Linked DNA regions of Homo sapiens: region 2 is linked to region 1. Evidence: promoter capture Hi-C in human tissues and cell types (Jung and others, 2019). All regions are on one chromosome and are shown on one strand. The core of a region is centred on a gene start or on the middle of the fragment in contact, and the rest is flanking DNA. Distances in the headings are between cores, read along the strand shown.

Region 1 (6,151 bases), core at 1,900-4,399:
ACAATCGCAAATAAGGATTCCTTCACCCTTTAAGCCCAAATTGTATCACTATCAGTTTCACATTACTTCTTATACAGCTAACCAGGCCCAAAATATATAAAGAGTTCACTTATTTAAAACACAGCCCAGGACTAAGTAAACTGGTCTCTAAGTAGCCAACATACATGTCACACAGTTCACACACTAAGAAAAGGAAAAAAAAGTATTATATAACAAATATAAATATCTGATTTTCAAAACCATAGTAGTTTGGAGGCAAAAATTAGAAGGAGAAAAGAGCCTGCTACAGGTGGACAGGCTTAAGAGTCTAAGGATCAGAGAAGAAACAAAAACTATTAAAAAGCACACACAATCACTCAGGGTCACTTCTCCGTAACTGTTTATTGACAAGTACATATGATTCCCAGAAAAATGAAATAAATAAGAATCTTCCTTAATGTTCCAGGCACCTACAAAACAAAATCTTCTTTAAACATTCATTAAAGCTAAATATTTTAAAACAAATATTTCCCTGATTAAGAGGTCATTTTTAAAGGATGGCTGATATATGCCAGCATAACGCCTCTATCAGTACCTAATAAATAATTAAAGGCAAGAAAGATTTATAACACACAAAGTTCAAAGATGATAGAATGTTTTCGTAAAGCATTTGATCAAGAATGTGGCCCCACTGATGAAGTTTTAACTTGGGTACTTCTGTCCTGATGACCGTGTCTTTGAATTCTATGTTACAAATAATACGAACTCATCCTCAAAAAAAGAAACGCTATTAAACTGGTCTTAAATACATACCCTGTGTACCTACTGAAATTAGACAACATCCTTTGACACTCAATGTCCTGCAGCAATAGGCTATGTAACAACTTTTCAAAGGACTTTAACATTACAACATTTAACATTACATGAAGGACTCTCACTTTGTTCACCAACAGTCATTAATGTTTATTATGAATTAATACTATTTTTCTAAGGACCCCACCTAAAATTTTTGTAAGGGGAATTAAGATGTTAACTGATTGAAAGTTATACTTAGGTTTATGATTAAGTTTATATACCAAAGCCGTAGACTGTAAGGCTTTTAAATATGTCTATGGCTTTGGTATATATTTTATCGTGTATTTTTCATATATTTTTCATCATGTAGCAAAAAGTATATCATAATAATTACTGCAGTAAGAAGAATTTGGGATGTTTTTAAATAGCAGAAAAGAAAATCAGTGTATCTTCACAACATTGGAACAGTAAAATAAAATTTCTTTAACTATGTTGTGATAAAGCAACTAAGTGGAACTAGGCCTCTCATATTTCTCAGACACAGCAAAGGATAAAGGAAACTAAAACACACACGCATACAAAAAATTTCATCAATCAAATGATCAGGCAACATCAAGATATTAAAGATCAAGATTATGGTCCTTCAGAAAACACAGGTCAAATATGCTACGTGGTATAAACATCTAAACCGAAGCAATCAATTGCACCTAGCTGCCCTCCTCCCTCTCCCCCGGCCAAAATAAAATAAAAAAAAAAAAAATCCATCTCCTTAGAATCATCCCTGCTCTTTAGAAGCTTACAGAATGAGGACACTGATTGACACCAAATAAATGTGCTTCAGAAACAGTGTTTTTCAAACTGCAAGTTGTGACCCACAAATCATCAATTTAGTAAATGTCAGCCAGCATTTTTTTTAATGCAAGAGGGTGGAATATAATAGAAATTAGCAGAACATATCACATATAATAAGGGTAAATACTGCTTTGTGAAAGTTTCCCTTCATACCTACGTATGTACTAGATCTGAATGTAAGACATACTTATTACTGTGGGGCATAATTTTTTTTTTTTTAAGTTTGAAAGCTACCACCCTAGAGATCTGGGTCTAATGCATCTCAGGACCCAAAGAGTGAATGTTTTCCTTAGTCCTCAGCACCTATTCATACTCTTTGCTCAAGATAGACTACTGGAAACGTAAGAGCTCCACAGCAGCATGACATGAACAAGGGACAAGCCCCAGCTCAGCCTGTATTTGGACTTGAAAGCATTACCAACTTCTCTCAACAGCCCTAGGCGTTGCCTACAAGCTCTTTGTAGCCTAGCAACCTTCACAGTAGAGCTCCTCCTTTCTCCACTGACTGTATACAGTTCAACACTTCCAACCAACTTTCCTCAACTACAACTTCTGGAATCACTGTGTCCCAAGAAAAGACTATTAAATCTCCTCTCTTCACCAATTCCCAGAATGTCTTCCTACTAGCGGACCTAGAACTCAACAGAGAAGCTCCACACAGATCCTTACTTCCCCCAAGATCCCACGACAAGGCACCCGCCTGTCAGTCCAACACCCTCGTTCTCAGTCTCCCAACCTTGGGGCAAATCTTTTCTCCCAAAAGCCCTTATTCAATTACCACATCCACATCCTTTTATCAGCCCCTGGTAAGAGCAGGCCTAATGTCCCAAGGGCCTAGACATGCCCGTCCTTCCCCCAGCAAACCTCCCTGGGGACATGTCCTCTTTTCTGGGATTCAGTAGTTCAGAGACAAGTTTCCTATTTCCCCAGCAGTCCCAGACACGTCTCCCTCTTCTAACAGCTGGGAGGCATCTACCCATCCCCCACGCTGGGGCAAGGTGAGACGCCTAGATTCTCCCAGGAACCCGGGCAGGCTCCCCAACACGCCCTCCTCCAACCCGGGACCAGTCCCCCAGCCCAGCCCAGCCCAGCCCAGCCCAAGACCCTCCCAGCTCCGCCATAGCCCAGGCCAGGCAGGCCCCATCCTCCCTCTAGCCCCAGGGCAGGTCTCCCATCCCCACAGCTGCTCGAGACAGGCCCCATGTGGCTTTCACCCTTCCCCGAGTGTCCTATCCCAGCACCCTGCAGGAGCGACCCTCCGCGCCTCGGCTCCAGAGGGGAACGCCTCGGGCCTCGAGAGCCCGGCAGAGCCAGCGGGCCCGGCTCCACTCACCCCTCAGCCCGGGAGGCGGGGGAGCTACTGCGGCGGCTCCTCTGGCTGCGCCTCTCCTCCCCCCTCCCGGCCACCGCTGTCGCCGCCGCTCAGCCTCGGGCCTGGTCCCGGCCAGCCCCGGCCCGGCGCCGCTTCACCTAGTCCCCCACTCTGGCCGCCGGAGCCCAGTGTCCTGCATTGACCCGGAAGCAGCTTTCCCGGCCCAACAACAACACGTGACCCCGCCGCACGTGTCACGTCCGCTGCGTGAATGGGAGGGGGCGCCGGAGGAGCGGGTCCTCCCCAACCGCGCTGGGGTTGCCATGGCGACGGGGATGGCTGCACTGGCTTAGGCTTTACCACAAACACCTCATCTGCTCTTTCTCGTGCCCACCCATTGAGTGGACAATCCCCAGGGGCAGAACAGGAGTACACATTGTCATATCAGAGGACAATAGGGGCTGCAGAAAAGAGCATTGGGCTGAACCTTTCCAGAAACACTTGGAATCTTGGCCTGGCTCTGTTACTGATTTGCTGTGTGACCTTGACCAAGTCTCTTCCTATCTCTGGCTTCAGTGTCCTCAACCATAAAATGAGGGAACTATACTAGATGAGCCCTCAGGGTATGGTGGCAGTCTGACCTTTCTTCTGTGCCCCCTTCACAAGTGGCATCCCGAGCTTCCAACACCAATGTAGTAACAGCAGCTTTCATTTATTGAGCACTTTCTAGGTACAGGCACTGCGCATGTGCTATTTTTAATTTTTACAGCCCTCCAAAGAGATGGTATTTATAGAATTGAAAACAAGTTCAGAGTGCTTAAGTGATCTGCCCAAGACCACCCAGTTAGTAAATGTGACCAGGGTGAGATTTGAATCCAGGTCAGGCTGGCACCAGGGTCCATGCACTTCACTTTATGCCACGCTATTGCTCCAACTCCATGCATAGTATTACTATATCTGACTGTTGAGCTGTGATTGCTTATGTACTCCTTCGTCCATTTCTTTTGCAGAAACATACATGGAATAGGCGTGGTGCTGGCTCAACCCCAAGTGAATTCAGCCTTGTATGGGAATGTCCCCTGAAGTGCTAGGAGATGAAGATGTCTTTGTGCATAAAGTGTATGTGCTTCTGTGTGGTGTGTGCCAGAAAAGACGTGGGGGATGTAATGTGCATGTGCATGTCTGCATTGGTTTCTAGAAGGGGGAAACAAAATTATTTAGGACAGACCCAATAGCACCTTACCATCATCAGTTCCTGGAGACTTATTTTTGTCATTCTGTTTTGTTTTCTCATATCCCATAGGTAGGGTTAGACAGGGTAGAGAGGAAAAAAAAAAGCCAGAAGGTCATGGGTAAAGAAACTGCTCTGAGTATAAAGGGGATGATTAGCCAAGAATTGTATCTTAGGTTGCTCAGGAAGGGGCTTTACTCCCCCTTCCACAGAGAACAGAGTGCCTTTCTTGGCAATTTAAGAATTACTGGCTTTCAGAGCACTGAGATCATTAGCATTGTGTCCGGAATTGGTGGGTTCTTGGTCTCACTGACTTCAAGAATGAAGCCGCGGACCCTCGCGGTGAATGCTACAGCTCTTAAGGTGGCGCGTCTGGAGTTTCTTCCTTCTGATGTTCGGATGCGTCCGGAGTTTCTTCCTTCTGGTGGGTTAGTGGTCTCGCTGGCTCCGGAGTGAAGCTGCAGACCTTCGCGGTGAGTGTTACAGCTCATAAAAGCAGTGTGGACCCAAAGAGTGAGCAGTACTAAGATTTATTGAAAAGAGCAAAAGAACAAAGCTTCCACAGTGTGGAAAGGGACCCGAGCGGGTTGCCACTGCTGGCTCGGGCAGCCTGCTTTTATTCTCTTATCTGGCCCCACCCGCATCCTGCTGATTGGTAGAGCCGAGTGGTCTGTTTTGACAGGGCGCTGATTGGTGCATTTACAATCCCTGAGCTAGACAAAAGGTTCTCCACCTCCCCACCAGATTAGCTAGATACAGAGTGTCCACACAAAGGTTCTCCAAGTCCCCACCAGAGTAGCTAGATACAGAGTGTCCATTGGTGCATTCACAAATCCTGAGCTAGACACAGGGTGCTGATTGGTGTGTTTGCAAACCTTGAGCTAGATACAGAGTGCCGATTGGTGTATTTACAATCCCTGAGCTAGACATAAAAGTTGTACACGTCCCTACCAGACTCAAGAGCCCAACTGGCTTCACCCAGTGGATCCCGCACCGGGGCTGCAGGTGGAGCTGCCTGCCAGTCCCGCGCCGTGCGCCCGCACTCCTCAGCCCTTGGGTGGTGGAAGTGACTGGGCGCCGTGGAGCAGGGGGCGGCGCTCATCGGGGAGGCTCGGGTCGCACGGGAGCCCATGGAGGGGGTGGGAGGCTCAGGCACGGCGGGCTGCAGGTCCCGAGCCCTGCCCCGCGGGAAGGCAGCTAAGGCCCGGTGAGAACTCGAGCGCAGCGCCGGTGGGCTGGCACTGCCGGGGGACCCAGTACACCCTCTGCAGCCGCTGGCCCGGGTGCTAAGCCCCTCATTGCCAGGGGCCGGCAGGGTCGGCCGGCTGCTCCGAGTGCGCGGCCCGCCAAGCCCACGCCCACCCGGAACTCCAGCTGGCCCGCAAGCGCCGCGTGCAGCCCCAGTTCCAGCTCGCGCCTCTCCCTCCACACCTCCCTGCAAGCTGAGGGAGCCGGCTCCGGCCTTGGCCAGCCCAGAAAGGGGCTCCCACAGTGCAGCGGTGGGCTGAAGGGCTCCTCAAGTGCCGCCAAAGTGGGAGCCCAGGCAGAGGAGGCGCCAAGAGCGAGCGAGGGCTGTGAGGACTGCCAGCACGCTGTCACCACTGCCAGCACGCTGTCACCTCTCAGCATGGCCACAGTCAAAAGTAGCCTCAGTGGTGAGGACCATGAGAAGAGCGGAGTAAAATGTACAAGGTGGATGCTGCATGGATACTCTGTTGACAGACTTACTTCTGAGCTCAGGTACCTTTGGGGACACCCAGAAACGCTTAAGAGGCTAGTTGCCCTGTGAGCAACTAGGAAAAAAGCAAGAAATATGGGTCATTACTGTTAACAAATACTATGTGCAACGTATATAAATACATATATGAGTATTGTATGTGGCTGGGTGTGGTCGATTATACACTTCTTTGTATCTCTGAGATATCCTCCAGTCATTTTTCTGCTTCTTTTCCCATCTTTCCCCTTATAGATGAAACTTCTAA
Region 2 (6,151 bases), core at 953-3,452, 34 kb after region 1:
CACCACACACACACCACACACATATACACACCCACACACCACACACACACATATGCCACCCCACACTCACATACATGTCACACACACACAGTGGCAGGAACCTGTAGGTCTACGCTAAACTGCTACGTACTCTCATGCACACACATCACACTCACATACCATATACACACCCATACACCGTGCACGCACACACACACACTGGCAGGAACCTGTATGTCTGTGCTAAACTCCTACACATACACACCAGTTTAGTTTATATAAGAAGGGAAAAATCAGCAAAGAAAAATGACTTCAAGTCTCTCTATACTGAACTGTTTCTCATCTGATCCTCCGTAAGCGGGTTTTAAAGTTCTGTCAGCACTTGAGCTTGAGGGCACAGTCTCCTGGTAATGACAGCCTGTGCTGTCCACCTGTTTGTGACTTCTCTCCGTTGACCTTCACATTTGACCAATCTTAGTGATTTAAAATGCTTTTGTAGCCCACTCGGTGCTGTAGGATTACAGATGATGGAAATGGAAGTTACATTTTATTATTTTTAATGCAAAAGCTACTAAGAAGCGAATCAGAACAATCCAAGTAGAATACCTTTCCAGGTAGACTTCTTGTGCTATGAGTAACAGGATGGTTAAATGGACTGAAAAGGAAGACAGTTCTAAATGTTCCCGTACATCAGAAATTTGGACGTTTGGTTCTGTATTAATTTATACACTGGCTCCAGACCTTCAGTACTGTGTTCTTACTCCTTCCCCCAATTTTAAAACTCTTTGATCTTTTTTTTTTCTGAAAAGAGCTCCCAATCCACTTCAGACAGTTTCATTGCTTGTTTCAGTTAGCCTTTCTGTATTCTGTAGGGCTAGGCTGTTTGTATCTGCAGCTGATTCCACTAATACAACTTAAAGAAGCCAAGGGATGAGACATTGGTGAGAATCTCTAGTGTTGGCAGCAAACAGGAAGAAGCATCGTTTGAGAGCCAGAATTCCTCAAAAAGGGACGAACTGGGTGAAAACAAAACAACAGCTACAACAAACTATCTTTCATCAGAGGGGTGCTGAATTCATCAACATGAATTAACCATATTTCACTCCAAGGGCAATGAGCAAGATCTTATTTCCCAGACATCAAAAAAATAAATTAATTAATTAACAACCCAAACACACAAACAGTCCTGCTTCCTCCACCCAGCCTTCCTTTGCTCTTTTAACTACTTAGAATCTTGAGCTCCTCTGAATTTCTACATGGTTAATATTCCAAACCACACACTGTAGCACTTTTATTGTTATATTTTGTGTGATTTTTTTTTTCAGTTTCTTACAGGTAAAGTTAGTTTTTTCCTTCAAGCAGAGTATAGATCACTGCTTCTATGTCTCATTTCTGGCAAGATCTAATGTGGTGCTGGGTGCTAGGTAAATACCCTCTCCAGGTCACTCACCAATCTATGGAAAAGTGCCAGTGTTCCCTGACAACCAAGAGACAACACTTGATTGGTCACAAGGCATACTGAAGAATGGGCAGGATCTTCAGCTAATTTTCTACAGGAGGATCTTTTGCCCTAGATACAGATGATGGAGGGATTTGTCATCCATCATCTGTATCTAGTCTAACTTGTAAATAGGATCAAGTCCCCAGTAGGTACACCATCAGTCACAATGCACTGACATGCTTCGGTAAATCCTGGTGAGTGAAATATTTATATGCATATGCTTAGTTAACCTACAGCTATAGTATATGCTCAATTTTTTTATGACCCTTCTTGGGGCCTCAATTTTCTGCCACTTCTGGTAGAGAGCTTATTTTTTACTTCGTTGCCTTCATAGACTTCTTTCTTTCTTGATCTCAGCATTAGTTCTGCTGTTTGTTGAATGGTAACATTCGTATTTGTTTAATTCATTCTCCAGATTTGGAAATTGGTATGAAATTCATAAAACTTGAATGATAATGTTCTTACGGTAGTGGCGGAACTTCTCTTGCTTGATTGCCCTCAAATTACAAGAAGCTTGTTGACCATGTAGGCTCTAAAATTCGGAGTTTTTTTTTTTCCTTTGGAAGCCACACCCAGTAACAACTTTTTCCCCTATGGGAAAAGTCTTAGGAGAGCATGCTATCCCCAGCCTTTGAGGCAAACCTTAGGATGGGCAGGTTGTCAGTTCCTGAGGGCACTCTCTGTTTGGCCACTGTGGGGACCTGCCTGTGGGGAGAAAGTCACCATTCACCGAAAGGCAAAGGAATTACTCATGGTGCTTTAATTTCTCTTTGAGAAGGCCCCATAGGAAGCACTAGCTATAAGCAAAATCTTTATGAAAGGATTCCTTCTCTGAATTTTCCAAACAGGCCTCTTCGTTATTACCCCGAGAGAGCTGACAACTAGTCAGGCACTCAAATCTCCCTTATCATTTCCAGACTGTTTTACCTTGCTGTGAACACCCCATTGGTGGGAGGGCCACAAATGAGTCTCTCAAGCTTCTCTCAAACCACCAATCTGGTGTTGCTGAAATGCCCCAGCCCTTTTCTGGCCTTGTGTACTTGACTCCTACAACATGGGGAAGTTCCCCCTTGGATTCCAAAAGAAAATTAAGCTCCTTGGAATCCAAAACTAAGAAACTTTCACAGAGTGGCCCCAGGTGGATTGGTTATCATGATATTTCAGTCTCACCTAACCAATAAGAGAGCTGGCTGGCAAGTTCCCAGGAAGAATATTCTCATATGAGCAGTGGATTAGAGGAAGCCAAAAGATTTTCGGCCCTCTCCGTGCTCAACTTACACTCTACCTGGTTTCTGAGGTGAGATCTTGTGACGGTTGGGGCCCTGCAAAGCAATTAAAAGAAATAAAGCAAAGTATTATATTTTAATTGATGTAATCTTCAAGCTCCCAGTGGAATCTGGGGTGATATCTGACTAGAGTTACCCTAGGTATCAATAGATGACTATTCTGTGAAAGTGCATTTAGGAAGACAAAACCCTAGGAATCCTGAACTTCATTAACATATGTATCCGCTTTTGGGGATGGGGGGGTGGATTGGCTCAGGCTCCTAGGACTAAAAATTGAAAGAAGCCACCTAGACTTTTCTGGGATCTGAACAAAGAGCCAAAGCGGGTGGGGGAGTAGAGAGGGAGGTGGAGAGAAGGAGACAGAGAGGGCAGGTGGAGGGGAAGACAAAAAGTGGGTTTATGATTTTATTTGCTTTTCAAGTCTAGTACCTGGATATTAGACACACTGAACCATACTTTCTAAACCCAAACAGCTGTCATCCATCACTAACATTTCAGGATTTGTTTCTGTTTTATTGTAAATATTCCAGTTGAAGAAAGATAAACAGACAAGAAAAAACTGCTTTATACAGTATACAGAGTCAGATAGAAAATACAGAATGGAAAAGAAAGCCAACAACCAACAGATAAAAAGTGGAAACAAACCAAGGAAGAGTATTAGCTGGTTGCAAATTCACCCACTAGCTTGAGCAAGGTGAGGCCCTGGTCTCAGCAGCTAACAGAAACCGTCTAGTGCTGGCAGTCTTATCTTGATTCCACACGGAGAAAGAAACAGACTATAAATGATGCATGGGGACATTTATTTCACTAATCCATTAAAAAAAGTTTGCTATTGATCAAGATAGCCTGCTCATAAAAACGAGTTTTTTTAAAAAACCACCCTTCCCGCCCCAAATGTGATCTGACAGTAGGAACCACGTTGTCTGTGAGAAGCATAGGATGGAGCTGCAGGTTGGAGCAGAGTGGCACCATTGGGGTTTGTTGTCAGCTGGCCTTCGGGTGCCCTTCCCACCAAATCCACGTTTCTCCACGAGGATCAAGGCAAGGTTTAAAAAAAGACACAAGTGTCTTGCACAGCTTGTTGTCATTTGATGGTTAAAGAGAAAAAAGATAAAGGATTCAAATTCATGAGTGAGGTCAGGTGAGGACAAAACGAGTATCCCTCACAGGAATAATCAGGGTACCATTTGGCCCCCAGGACGGCAGCCCTAACTGATTGTCCTGGCATAAAGAGGATGCCGACCAACCCAAATGGCAAAAACATGAATTAAGCTCGTCATCTTCCAAAGATGTCTTTATTTTAGTACATTTGCAACAGCAACAAAAGTGAGGACAATTCCATTCAAGGTGGTGGCAGCGGTGGTGGAGGTGGAGGTGGTTGGTAGCGGCTGTTTGTTTCTCTCTGAATTTTCTAAGTTTACAATCAGAAATTGCATAGAATTTGTTTTCCATCAGCCAATGAGAACTCTGCGTGAAACTCCCAATTAGTGAAGCCAAGCAAAGGTCAAGCAGCTGTAGAAAGCCTCGCCCCTCCCATCAGATGTGTGCTCTGGACTCTGCAAACTTCTCACATGGAGAGCAGTCACTAGCAGTCACCTGGTAACCTGGACAGCATCAGTAACTCCTATTTGGTAGATGGAAGAGAAGTTAAATGCTTTACCTAAAGTCATACAAGGTGGGAGGGCTACTGCTCAAGCTGAGGTTACGACTCAAGAGTTCCTGGTTCCCAGGCCCGTGTATTGACTAGGAGACTCCACCTCTCTCCCAGGAACCTAGCAAATTCTTGAATACTTAAGGTCTTTCTGTTGAATAAATACACACACGCACACGCGCGCACACATACACACACATACACTTGCACCCAGGTCTCACGTCTAAGTAGCAAGAAACCACCCAATCCATGATAGTCTTGGGGGTCTGGCTTCATAGGCAGCCACTCATTTGAGTTTGGTTGAAAAGAGATGCAGTTGACAAAGTATGCACCATACCAACGGGGTGGCCCAGTCCTTCCGCCTCTGTGAACGGCACGTTCCACCGGAAGCCAAGGCCATGGTATGGGAAAATTCTATCTGCTCTTTCCGCTCCTTAAACAAAGTCCTAGGATACTTTGTGCATTCTGTTCTCCTCCCCTGTCTGTCTTCAGAGACTACATTCACAAAAAGATCAAATCAAACCCAGTAATAGTGACAGTCAGAAAGAGAAAGGGAAAGAAAAGACAGATTAACCCTTGACATTCCAGGCGTTTCAAGGTCTGAGTATAGGATGAGTTAATTGCTTTTTGGCATCTCAAAGTTTACTGCAATGGACTTTTGAGACTCTCCATCTGATTCTTCCCAAGACTCCTTCTCCTGTGCTCCTGCAGGCCCCTCAGTCACCATACAGAGAGTTAAGCACCTGAAATCGGATGCACTGGTAACGCAATATTCCAAAATTCAGGAAAAAGAAGAAATAGGGATTATTTAGGCTTCCATTCCCTAACCCAGCCTCCCCCTCCAAAAAACACAAAACAAATTAACAGGACTGAGAAGATGACAAAGAAGAAAAGGAGAGGAGGAAAGAAAAGGGAAAAGAACATTAACAAAAATATACAAATCCAGAAAAGAAAAACTTCCCTGTTTAATTTTTTTTTTTTCTGTAAGAACTAGACGGAGGGTACATTGGCCCCTGACTAGGGGGAAATTCAACTGATGATTCCACCAATTCATTGGACTGGTCTGGGTAGGGACCCCCCACCCTATACTCTTGTTATTTTGGCGAGAGGGAAAGACCCACTGGGAGAAGATGGGTCCTTGTGCCCAGGAGGGAGGGCCGTCCTTTGCCCTTTGGGTGCAACGTTTCCGGGTGGACCCTGCTCCCTGACCGGGCGCGGTCTCTGGCTGGGGCGTCAGGCTCCTTGATCTTTTTGAAAAGTGACTGGATCCGAAATCTGGAGAGGTGTCGACGCTGTACAAGTTCCGGCTGGCGGCTGACAGCAGCGCCCGCCCCGCCCCTCCCCTCCCGCCCCGCCCGGCCTCTGCGCGTCCTGTGGCCTCCGGGACTACTCGGGCTCGCTGCTGTTGGTGGTTTTCTCCCACTCCAGGCTCTCCTCGCTGCGGGCGGGCGACGGCCGTGCCCGCAGGCCCTGGAAGCGGCGGCACTCGGGGCAGACGCGGATGTGCGTGCAGCCGCGGGCCACCAGGGCGGCCTCCTGCGCCAGTCTCTGCGCGAGCTGGTCGGGCTCCCCTGCCCCGCACAGCTTCCCGTTGCTGAGCGTCGCCGTGCCCCGCGGTCGGCGCTCCTCGGGGATGGGGGGCCGGGGCGGCGGGACTGCGGCGCGCCGCCGGCGGGGGTGGATACTGTCCTGACACAGGATAATGCTGCGCAGCTCGGTCACCATCTCCTGGCA

Evidence for each region. The method cuts DNA at HindIII sites, captures the fragments that hold promoters and counts their contacts. A contact is called where the count stands out against the background at its distance.
Region 2: a fragment that was not itself captured here is called in contact with the fragment with the promoter of TBCEL in region 1 in 1 of the 25 tissues and cell types used here (hippocampus).

The regions. Positions count from the first base shown.
Region 1 is chr11:121,021,100-121,027,250 of GRCh38, reverse strand. TBCEL (tubulin folding cofactor E like) reads right to left here and starts at 3,149. Exons shown (of 9, transcript NM_001363644.2): 1 at 2,960-3,149. It overlaps TBCEL-TECTA (TBCEL-TECTA readthrough), which reads right to left and starts at 3,149. Exons shown (of 30, transcript NM_001378761.1): 1 at 2,960-3,149. RefSeq lists silencers at 2,896-3,165, 3,186-3,335. The HindIII fragment of the contact is 9,289 bases long and covers 1-6,151 here.
Region 2 is chr11:120,985,913-120,992,063 of GRCh38, reverse strand. It overlaps GRIK4 (glutamate ionotropic receptor kainate type subunit 4), which reads right to left. Exons shown (of 21, transcript NM_014619.5): 21 at 3,158-6,151. The coding sequence ends at 5,804. Among named protein-coding and RNA genes, the nearest start is that of TBCEL, 35 kb to the left of the region's middle. RefSeq lists a silencer at 5,961-6,040. The HindIII fragment of the contact is 4,948 bases long and covers 1-4,676 here.